Regions from separate parts of the Homo sapiens genome. Here regions 1, 2 and 3 are each linked to region 4. The links are contacts of gene promoters, found by promoter capture Hi-C in human tissues and cell types (Jung and others, 2019). All regions are on one chromosome and are shown on one strand. The core of a region is centred on a gene start or on the middle of the fragment in contact, and the rest is flanking DNA. Distances in the headings are between cores, read along the strand shown.

Region 1 (2,700 bases), core at 169-2,668, 42 kb after region 4:
TGAATGGACTGTTTAAAGCAACTCTGGTGAGGGCCCAGAAAGAAAAGAGGAGAGTTGTAGAGAAAGTCTCCATTTTCTTAGAGAATATATAAGCAATCCAGAGCAGAATGTTGGTTGGAATATGGACAGTAAAGGTCATTCCAATGAGGTCTCAGACAAAAAATGAGGAACATGTTATTGGAAACTGGAAGACAGGTGATCCTTGTTACCAAGTGGCAAGGAGCTTGACTGAACCATGTTCGTGTTATAGTCATAGTTTTCGTGGAAGGTGGAACTAGGAGTAATGGAGTTGAATATCGGCTAAGGAAATATGCTAAACAAAGTGTTGAAGTGACCTGTTTCTCTAATAGCTTATTGTAAAATGGGAGGAGAGGGAAATGACTTAAAGATGGAATTGTTAGTTAAGAAGGGAGCAGGCTGGGCATGGTGGCTCACACCTGTAATCCCAGCACTTTGGGAGGCTGAGGCAGGCAGGTCACCTGAGGAGTTTGTGACCAGCCTGGCCAATATGGTGAAACCCCGTCTTTACTAAAAATACAAAAATTAGCCAGGCGTAGTGGCGGGCACCTGTAATCCCAGCTACTCGGGAGGCTGAAGCAGGAGAATCGCTTGAACCCGGGAGGTGGAGGTTGCAGTGATCGTGCCATTGCACTCCATCCTGAGTGACAAGAGTGAAACTCCATCTCAAAAAACAAAAAACAAAAAAAAAAAAAAAAGAAGAAGAAGAAGAAGAAGAAGAAAGAAGCAGAATTTAAAGATTTGGGAAATGTTCAACCTATCTATTTTGAAAGGAATGAGAAAGCCTGTTTGGGAGAGAATACCGGGATGGGTGTGGCCAAAGGACCATTTAAGAAAGACATTCATTAGTCAGCCACCCCAACAGAAGCCAAGAGCTGCTGTGCAAGACAATGGGAGAATGCAAAGGAGGGATGCTGGTACCTGCAGGACGGAGAGGCGCCCTGCCCTGCCCTGATGTGCACTGCCTTACCTCTTGGGCTCTGCTCCCTGCTCTCCAGCACCACACTCCTCAGCCACCCCAGCAGGGGTTCTGGGGGGCCCTGGTGTGGTGAGGGCTGCGCTCAACAGAGCAGAGGGGGCACAATGGCCTCCACCTAGATTTCAAAGCACTGGGCTTCCAAGCACAGCCATTAGGACCCCAGTCCCAGAGAGCTGTGGGGCACAGGCATAAGCTGCTACAGGGGCAGGGGATCCCCAAAGTCATGCGGCCCAATCCCTGCCTGGCAAAACTGCTGGGACACAGCTGCTGCCCCAGTGTGACTGGAAGATATGGAACTCTTTCCCCATGGGTCTGCAGGGCAAAGCGTGGGCCAAGGAGGGCTAATCTGAAGCTTTAAGGTCTGATGGAACTTGCCCCGCTCGGTTCTGGACTTTCTCTGCACCTCTCACTCCCTTCTTCCTTCTCACTTCTTCCTTTTGGAATGGGAATGTCTATCCTGTGCCTGCCCCCATTGTATTTTGGAAGCACACAACTTGTCTGGTCACAGTTTCACAGCTTGAAAAGAATTCTGCCCAAAGATAAATCATACCTTGGGTCTCACCCATATCTGATTTAGAGGATATTCAGCTAAGACTTTGGGCTTTAGACTTTTGGACTGAAACCATGTGAGAAGAGCATGAATGCTGGGTGTCCAGGGGAAGAATGTGATAGACTAAATAACTGTGTCCCCCCCAAAATTCATATGTTGAAATCCTCAGCCCCAAGATGATGGCATTAGCAGGTGGGGCGTTGGGAGGTGATTATGTTATGAGGATGGAGCCCTCATGAATGGGATTAATGCCCTTATAAAAGGTGCCCCTGGGAATTCACTCACCCCTTCCATCGTGTGAGGGCACAGTGAGATGATGCTGTCTTAACCAGAAAGCAGGCCCTCACCAGACACTGAAACTGTTGGTAACTTGATCCAAAACTTTCCAGCCTCCAGAACTGTGAGAAATAAGTTTCTGGTGTTTTTAAGTCCCTCAGTTTGTGGTATTCTGTTATAACAGCCAAACCAGACTAAAGCAACACTCAGAGTATCTCTTAGATGGTAATTGTTTTAGTCTGCTTGGGTGCCTTCTCATTGTCCTCACATGGCAGAAGGGACGGGAGAGCTCTCTGGGACCTCTTTTATAGGAGCACTAATCCCACGCAGGAGGACCCCCCACCCTCACGTCCTAATCACCTCGTAAGGGCCCCACTTCTTAATACACTGGGGATTGGGTTTCAACACATGATTTGGGGAGGAAACAAACATTCAGATTCCAGTGACAACCAAGGGTAACTAACGCATCAACGTGATTGTTGAAACAATCTAAATTCAGACACCGCACAGTTAAAACTTCAGTATGTTTCTACAACTGTCGAGACTGTAACATGTTCACACGAGGCACTCAGAAACCTGTGTTCTAGATCATCCACGCTCATCCTGAGTCACTAGAAGCTGGGGATGATGAATGCAACAGCAGGCATAATTCATGTGTCTGAATGGAATAGTAGCTCACTCCGGTGAAATTCACCCCTCATTTCCTGAAATTCTCTCTACTGGATGACTACCAAAGAAGCTTCCAGTTCTAATTTAGTACATATTTTCGTGAATCCAGATGTCATCTCATGGCTTAATATTTAATGAATCACTCCACAAATAAAATGAATGACATAATCTAAATATATTTTTTTCCTAAATAGTCTTGTTGTGTTTA
Region 2 (2,707 bases), core at 190-2,689, 42 kb before region 4:
TTTAAGTCAAAAACTGTCGCAAGACACAAAGAAGATTGTTATTCAGTAATAAAAGGGTCCATTCACAAGAAAGACATAACAACCATAAGTATATATACACCTAACGTTAGAGTTCCCAATTTTATAAGGTAAACATTGGCAGAGCTGAAGAGACAACTAGACAGCAACACGATAATAGTAGGAGACTTCAATATCTCACTTTCAGTTATATAAAGAACCAGACAGAAGATAAGCAAAGAAACAGAGGACTTGAACAACACTACAAACCAACTGGACCTAACAGACATATTCAGAACACTCCACCCAACAACAGCAAAATACACCTTCTCCTCAAGTGCAACTAGACATTCTCAAAGATAGAAGACATGTTAGTCCACAAAACAAGTTTTACCACATTTAAGATTTAAATCACTCAAAGTACAATAGAATGAAACAAATCAACAGGAAAGCAAAACAGGAAAATTCACAAATATATGGAAATTGAATAATTTACTCTTAAACAACCAAAGGGTCGAAGGAGAAATCACAAGGGAACTTAGAAAATATATGGAGACAAATAAAGAAAACACAACATATCAAAACTTATGGGCTACAACAAAAGCAGTACAAAGGAAGAAATTTATAGCAGTAAAGACTTACATTAAAAAAGGAGGAAAACCCTCAAATCAACAATCTAAGTTTACACCCTCAAAAAACTAAAAAAAAAAAAATAAAGAAATGTAGCTGAAGAAAGCAAATAATACAAATTGTACAGAGATAAATGAAATAGGAAATAGAAAATAGAAACAAAATCAACAAAACCAAGAGCTGATTCTTCGAAAAGATCAATGAAATGTATAAACCCTTAGCTAGACTAAGAAAAAAATGAGAGAAGACTCAAATAACGATACTTAAAAATGAAAGAATGTTACAACTGATGTCACAAAAATAAGAAAAATTGTGAGACTATTATGAATAATTGTACGCCAATTGTACTAAAGAGGCAAAGGACTTATACACCAAAAACTACAAAACATTGTTTGTAGAAATTAAGGAAAACACCAGTAAGTAAAAAGACATCTTGCTTTCACAGATTGGAAGGCCTAATATTGTTAAGATGTCAGTCCTATTCAAAGCAATCTACAGATTCTATATAATTCCAATATAAACGCCAACTGCATTTTTGGCAGAAATAGAAAAGCCAATTCCAAAATTATATGGAGTCTCAAGGGACCCCAAATAGCCAAAACAATCCTGGGGGAAAAAAAAGAAAGTTGGAGGTCTGAAACTTCCTATTTCAAAAACTTACTACAAAATCAAACAGCATGATACTGGTATAAAGACAGATATAGAGACCAATGGAACAGAATAGAGAGCCCATAGTTAAATCCTTGCATAAAGTAGCCAAATGAATTTCAACAATGATGCCAAGACTACAAAATGAGAAAAGGACAGTCTCTATAAATGATGCAGGGACAATTGTATCTCCATATGCAAAAGAATGAGGTTAGCACTCTTACTATATATCATATAAAAAATTCAACTCAAAATGGATCAAAAGCCTAAATATGAGACCAAAAACTATAAAATGTCTATGAGAAAACATTGGAAAAGATCATTATATTGAATTTGGTAATAATTTCTTGGATATGACAGTAAAAGCTCAGGAAACAGAAGCAAAAATAGACAAATGGACTACATTAAACTTAAAAACTCCTGCACATCACAATAGCCAAGACGTAGAAGGAACAGAAATGTCAATCAACAGGTGAATGAAAAAAGAATATGTGGCATATACATACAATATTGTTCAGCCTTGAAAAACAAAGAAATCCTGTCATGTTCTACTAGGTGGATGAACTTTGAGGACATCATGTTAAGTGAAATAAGCCAAGTATAAAAGGACGAATATGTTAAGATTCCACTCATATGAAGTATCTTAAAGTAGTTAGAAATCCAGATGTGAAGTCCTATGATTCCATTACAGCTGATAAGCCTAACTACTACAAAATATTTTATTTTTCACTGAATTATTTCAAATTTCTTTCACCTTCCAATCTATTCTTACAGTTCAAACATTTCCAGTATTATAAACTGTTTGAAGGGTTTTATTAATACGTACCTTTTAACAGCCTCCCTTCTAGTGTAAGTGGTAAGTAAATCTTGTTTTTGCCTTTCTGCTTACCACTATTCATTCTACAAATAATTAGTGGATGACTGGTGAGCTAGACAGAGTTCTAATGTCTGAGGACAGAGCATAATCAAGACACAAAGTCTCCACTTTCTTAGCATTTAAATCACAGTGCGTGAAACGGAGATTAAACAAGTAAACTAATCAATAAACCAGCTGTTTTTTATAGTTATGAGTACTATGAAAGGAATAAAACCAGGTACTGAGATAAAGATTGACTATGGTGTGGGAAAGAAGAGTCTACCTTGGATATGGTGATTCACTCCCCATATCCATTCCTTCCTATAGAGTTAATACAGCCTTGAAAAAGCACACAACCCAGTAACATCTAATGTATTACAAAGAGAATACATATATAATGCATCCCACAAAAAGATATTGAGATTTTAAAATATATCTGTAAAGATTATAGTCAAGAATTTCCCAAAAGTGATGAAAGACATCAAATCACAGATCTGAGCACTTCATCAAACTCCAAGAATGATGAACATTATGAAAACCATACCTGGGCACATCATTATCAAATTGCTGAAAAGT
Region 3 (2,703 bases), core at 14-2,513, 62 kb before region 4:
TCTGATTCAAGGAGATCTGGGGTTTGGCATGATTCTCTGCATTTCTAAGAAGCTTGCCAGTAATGCCAATTCCTCAGGTCCAAAGGCCATGAACACTGAGGGGAGAATTCACGGATGACATAAAACTGAAAGTGTCACAAAATTTACAGGTTGTAATACAATAGCAAGAATAGCAACAAACAATCCTTTTGAACATTTACTATATACTATATTAATGCATAAAACCACAAAAAAATCTACGACAGCAATAAAATTTTTTCATTTTTCAAGTGGAAAATGAAATATTGTTCATTTTATAAAATAATATTAAAACCACATATAAGACCATCATCCTCTTAAACAACTGAAAAGGGCCACATGCTTTTTTTCATCTAAAGCTAATATTGCTAAAAGAAATACATAATTCGTATCCTTTAGTGTCGTTCAAAGCATCATTATTTTATAGAAAAAACCTGAAAACAATGGACCCTAGAAAATCCTCTTATTCGCTAACCTGAAGGCAGTTCAGGAGGTTACCAAAGCAACAACAAAAATCTCCCAGTCAGATTGTATCTGCTTTGACTCTGCTCCAACTTACTTCCTTGCTAGCTATCCAGAATCAATCCTTATTACACCTAAACTTAAATTTCCAAATCAAGGATGCATGGCTAGGATGGGATACCTTGCAGTAGACTGGCACCCTCACTAAGAGCAAGCGAGAAAGCTAAGCAAAAATCCATCTGAAGAAGCCAAAACAGAGGCAGCAGGCTCACCATGGTAAACATTTCCTGCACGCCACTTCCCCCGAGAACTTGTCTTCTGCTGACAGGGCACGTAATGTGAAAACCTGGACAGAGAGAATAAAGAACCCGGGAGAGCTTGAGGGAAAAACTGGCCAAGAAGTCAAAAAAGGAGGGGCCACAATTTCAGGGAATATGAATGTCAGAGAAGAAAGCCAACCAATACTGGTTATCTCCTCGACACATTTACTGACTAAGTTGTACAACATAAGAGGTTAAAAAACAATTGTAAAAATGGCTTAAAAAGAAGGGCTGTATTTTCAGCCATTTTTTGGTGTTGACACATTCCAGGCCCTCAGTTGGGACCTCTGGGGAACGATGCAGAAAGGCAGGGGAACCAGAGTCCAGTGGAGCCTCTGCAAGACTGCAGGTCAGCCCCATGCCAGCTCAGACCTACAGAGAGGCAAGGGAAAAACCACTCAATGCCTCTACAAATCTTTGTACACAATGAAAATTGCCAGGTGATATGGTTTAGATGTTTCATCCCCTCCAAATCTCATGTTAAAATGTGATTCCCTTGTTGGATGTGGGGTTTGGTGGGAGGTGTTTGCATCATAGACATGGATCCCTCATGAATGGCTTAGTGCTGTGCTCATGGTAATGAGTGAGTTCTCACTGTTAGTTCACAAGAGATCTGGTTGTTTAAAAGAGGCTGGCACCTCCTCCCTCTCTCTCTTGCTCCCTCTCACCATTGACAAGCTGGCTCCCCCTTCACCTCTGCCATGATTGGAAGCTTCCTGAGGCTCTCATCAGAAGCAGATGCTGGTGCCACGCTTGTACAGCCAGCAGAACTGTGAACCAAATAAACCTCTTTTCTTTATAAATTACCCAGTCTCAGATATTCCTTTACAGCAATACAAACAGACTAATACATCAGGCATACCAAGTAATAGAAAGAAGCAAGAAAACAGACATTAGAAATGGAACCAGAGATGGCAGAAGGGACTTCATGGTTAATGTGTTCCAGAAAACAGATTGCAAGATGGAGAATCGCACCAGAGAACTAACATACGTTAGAAAGAATCAAATTAAAATTTTCGAACTGAAAACATAATAACTGAAATCAAGAACTCAATAGACAGCTTTAAAACATCACAGAACAGAGATGAAGAGTGACTTCATATGCCAAAAGATGGAGTGCAAAGGAAGAAATAAAAAACAGCACAAGCATAAAAGCAAGTGGGACCTGGGAGAAGCATGTAACCTTCACATGAGCAGAGTCCTAGAACGGTGCCAAAACAATATTTAAGAAATAATGGCCACTCTTTTTCAAACACTGCTGAAAGTTATCGAACTACAGATGCAAAAACTGCTATGAACTTTACGCAGGAGAAATGCAAAGAAAAACCAAACAAGGTCAGGAGCACCACGGTGCTTCAGCTGTCACTTATTTTAAACTTTCCTGAGCTTAGATGACTCCAAAAGAGTTCCACAAAGCAATAGATCATCCTCCAGTAATGACCAAATGGAATTTACCTTCCACAGGCCCTAATCAGGACTTGGTATCCTGACTTCACTTCTTAAAGCTTCAGCCACAAGTGGAATGGAGCAGAGATAGGGTTGAGAGGCCTCATGTGTTCTTTATGATTTCTCTGGCTGCATGTCATCTTTTCAGTTTTAAATGTGTAGGTGATCTATCATATAGTATAATTTGGTGATGTTGGACCTGTCCCACAATCCACAGAGCCATCCCATCAATTTCTGGTAACACATGGTCACGCTATAGTCACATTACAGTGGCTCGCTACAAGTCTTAGATTTCCTCAGATGAATTGGTATCAGTACTTTTTAAAACGAAGGAAAAAAAGCCATCCTACAAGGTTGACTATTGTATAATTTGAAGTATGTGACACTTAGGAAAAAGCAAAACTATGGAAACAGTAAAAATATCAGTGGTTGCCAGCGTCTGGGGATAGGAAGGGAT
Region 4 (2,950 bases), core at 400-2,899:
TTGCAAGGGGGAGGGCCAGGGCTTCCTTCCTCAGGGTAAGCACCCCTGCCCAATTCAGGAGTGAGAACTGGGGGCCCCCTTCATGTTTAGTAGGATTTATTCATGTGTCTTCCTAGCTCCTTGGTAGTTCACAAATAGGAATGAAAAGGCAAGGCCTCCTGGCATTGCCTCCTGATGGTGGCCAGGCTTGTGCACGCAAGGATGCCCTCTGATTCTCTAGCTCCCAGACCCAGGAAATGGAGAAGCGTCAAAACAAGAGGGTTTGGGGGATAGGGGCACGCTGAGCTTCCTAGGGTGGGGAAAGAGGTAAAGGCCAGACACTGCTCCAATTTTCAAATAACAGGACAGTCTGCAAGCTCTAGCCAGAAATCCAGCCAGAGAGACAGAATTAAAGAAACTAAACCCAGAATCTCCAGTTGTGTTTACAGCAACAGGATTTAACCCTTTGGGTCCCACTGTCCTTGTATCCTCATGCGCCCTCTTCATCTCTTCTAGAGTGATTCTAAGCTCCCATTAGCCGGTTGGTGTACTGGGAGGAAGGTTGCGGAATTTATGGTGAGATGATTTCTTACATTACCAGGCAGAAGCCTTATTATCCATTTCGACATGCGTGCTTTATGGGGGTGGGAGTGCGTGTGTTCCTCTGTGTGAAAGTGGCTGATGTGGAAGGTGTGTGTGTGTGTTTGCAGGACCTGGGAGGGGAGTCCTCCCAGACAAGCAGGGCTTTCTTCTGCCCACCTGGTTCCAATCCCCCCGCGCCTGCCTCCAATGCATTAGCTCTTTCCAGCCCGGTCTAAACTAGGCAGTTAGAACCACGGTTCCCGGGTTCTTGGAAATTTCAGAGTGATGGAAATGACAGAGAATGTCAGCCAAAGTGTGTGTGTGTGTGAGCCCCTGAAACAGCTGAGGTGGGAATTAGGGGTCGGTAAGGAGCCAGAAATGGCCCCTGCCCCCTGAACCTGGTTCTCAAAACCCCTTAAAACCACCAGATCCTAAAAGCGTCAGGAGACGAGCCCATTAATCTGAGTCCCCACACTCCCGGCTGCAGAGGAAAAAGCAGATGACCGTGTCCAAGGGAGCTGGGACAGGTGAGGTGCAGACCGACTTCCCAGTCCCCTCCCGGCCCGCCGTGCCGCAGCCCAGCCGACGGCTGGCGCGCCAGGGACTCCAGCAGACAGCGCCCCCCGCCGCCCTGTCGCCCAGCTCGGGGCCTCCGGGGATGCGGCCCCCGCGCCACTTACCGCGCGTGCAAGCCCGAGAACAGGCAGAGGAGGAGCAGCAGCTTCGGGGCCATGGTGCCGTGGAGCTCGGGGCGCAGGGTCCGGGGCCTCGGCCGGGCGCGGCTTCCTCCGGCGCGGACCTGGTCTCCGCCGGCCCTCTTTGCCCTGGCTTCCTCCGAGGCTGCTGGCCGCGGCGGGCGGGACAGGTATCTACTCTGGCGCTGGCCGCGCCCCCGCGGGGCGCACACTGGACGCACACGGGACGCCGGGCCACCGCGGCGCGCCGCCCCCACCCGCGCACTAGCGCCGGTCCGCGCAACCGGGCGGCGGGAGCAATGGGCGCCGGGGACCCCCTGGCGCGGCGCCGCCCACCCCGCCTGGAGCCGCGAGCGGGCGCGGGTGCCCAGGCCGGGGCTGTGTGCGCTGTGCTGGGAGGTGGGGGCAGCTGGGCGGCTGTCCCCTGGCAGCGCCTCCGAGGCGGTCCCGGCGGGGAGGAGTTTCCCCAATTACACGCCTGACAACGCGCAGGGCGAGGAAGGCGAGGTTTGAATGGACTCGGAGTTTGAGGCCAGGAAGGGGGCGGAGCTCCGAGGGGGAGGGGAGGCTGGGGATCCCGCAGGGAGCCTGAAGAAAGGTCCCCGGGGTTGGCACCATGAGAGCGAGCCCGCGGTCCGCCTTCCTCCAGCCATTTCTACCCCAGTGCAGGTTTCCTCCAGCGCTCCCTGACCTCCCGTGCCCGCCGTCGCCCGGGGTTGAGACGGTTTGCCAAAAGCAGCCCTTCCATCGCACTCTTCGTGCTAAGTCGGCTGAACTCCTAGGCACTGATAAGATTCTGTGCTTGGAAAGGTGGCTTTCTGCGGGAATATTTGGGAAAAAAGCACCCCAGATTTATGCCTTTCTTACAGAAAAGAGAGACTAACACATAGCAATAAACAGTAGAGGTGGAAAGGCATGTTAAAGGTAGGAGCTAGAAAGATCCTAAGGCAAGAAGCCAAAGACGTTCCGTTTGGTGGAAGCATGAGGTGCGCCTCATTCCATGTATTTTCATATTCCAAAAACCGAAAATGGCATTTACGCTTTCATTTGTCATAATCATTCAGAAAGTTAGTCTTGCACCATGTAAGTATTGCAATCGCAACAGTGTAGTAAATCCACTAGGAATTTTACATTTCTATCACCCCCAAAAAGTTCTTAGAAAATGTTTTATAACTGCTATTCATAGAATTATGTAAGGGTGTGATAACTGTTTCTTTAATATTGTCAAATAGCTTTGTTCGGCCAGGCACAGTGGCCCAAGCCGGTAACCCCGGCACTTTGGGAGTCCGAGGCAGGCGGATCACTTGACCCCAGGAGTTCGAGACCAGCCTAGGCAATGTGCAAAAACCCTGTCTCTACAAAAAATAGTAAAGAATTAGCTGGGCATGGTGGCATGGGCCTGTATTCCTCTGGTGTGTTCCCCCTTGTTTCTGGATAGGCATGAAGTGGAGGGGAGTGCAGTTGTTAATGACAATATTGTTTTTCAACAATGGAGCTGTCATCTCCCTGGCATCACCTTTCTGTCTCTGTGAGGTGCTGAACTCACCCAGCTCCCCGCCTTTCCAGGACTCTTTCTGGCATTCTCATCCTCCTCTGCCCAGCACATCCCTCCTACTTAGGTGCACATGCCCTATAAGGTCCCCTCTTTGATGAAGACTCTGACGCTCCTGCATTCTTCCACTTCCAACACCTGT

What was found. Contacts are between HindIII fragments. The study calls those that stand out against the background at their distance.
Region 1: a contact is called between a fragment that was not itself captured here and the fragment with the promoter of GABRG3 in region 4, in 3 of the 25 tissues and cell types used here (dorsolateral prefrontal cortex, spleen and stomach).
Region 2: a contact is called between a fragment that was not itself captured here and the fragment with the promoter of GABRG3 in region 4, in 1 of the 25 tissues and cell types used here (dorsolateral prefrontal cortex).
Region 3: a contact is called between a fragment that was not itself captured here and the fragment with the promoter of GABRG3 in region 4, in 3 of the 25 tissues and cell types used here (dorsolateral prefrontal cortex, liver and spleen).

What each region holds. Positions count from the first base shown.
Region 1 is chr15:26,928,023-26,930,722 of GRCh38, reverse strand. The region is part of intron 7 of GABRA5 (gamma-aminobutyric acid type A receptor subunit alpha5); the gene reads right to left. Among named protein-coding and RNA genes, the nearest start is that of GABRG3, 42 kb to the left of the region's middle. RefSeq lists an enhancer at 1,084-1,632. The HindIII fragment of the contact is 7,071 bases long and covers 1-2,700 here.
Region 2 is chr15:27,012,349-27,015,055 of GRCh38, reverse strand. The region is part of intron 2 of GABRG3 (gamma-aminobutyric acid type A receptor subunit gamma3); the gene reads right to left. Among named protein-coding and RNA genes, the nearest start is that of GABRG3, 43 kb to the right of the region's middle. The HindIII fragment of the contact is 9,195 bases long and covers 1-2,707 here.
Region 3 is chr15:27,031,323-27,034,025 of GRCh38, reverse strand. All of the region lies in intron 3 of GABRG3 (gamma-aminobutyric acid type A receptor subunit gamma3), which reads right to left. Among named protein-coding and RNA genes, the nearest start is that of GABRG3, 61 kb to the right of the region's middle. The HindIII fragment of the contact is 3,014 bases long and covers 1-2,703 here.
Region 4 is chr15:26,969,880-26,972,829 of GRCh38, reverse strand. GABRG3 (gamma-aminobutyric acid type A receptor subunit gamma3) reads right to left here and starts at 1,649. Exons shown (of 10, transcript NM_033223.5): 1 at 1,242-1,649. The coding sequence starts at 1,294. The HindIII fragment of the contact is 15,270 bases long and covers 1-2,950 here.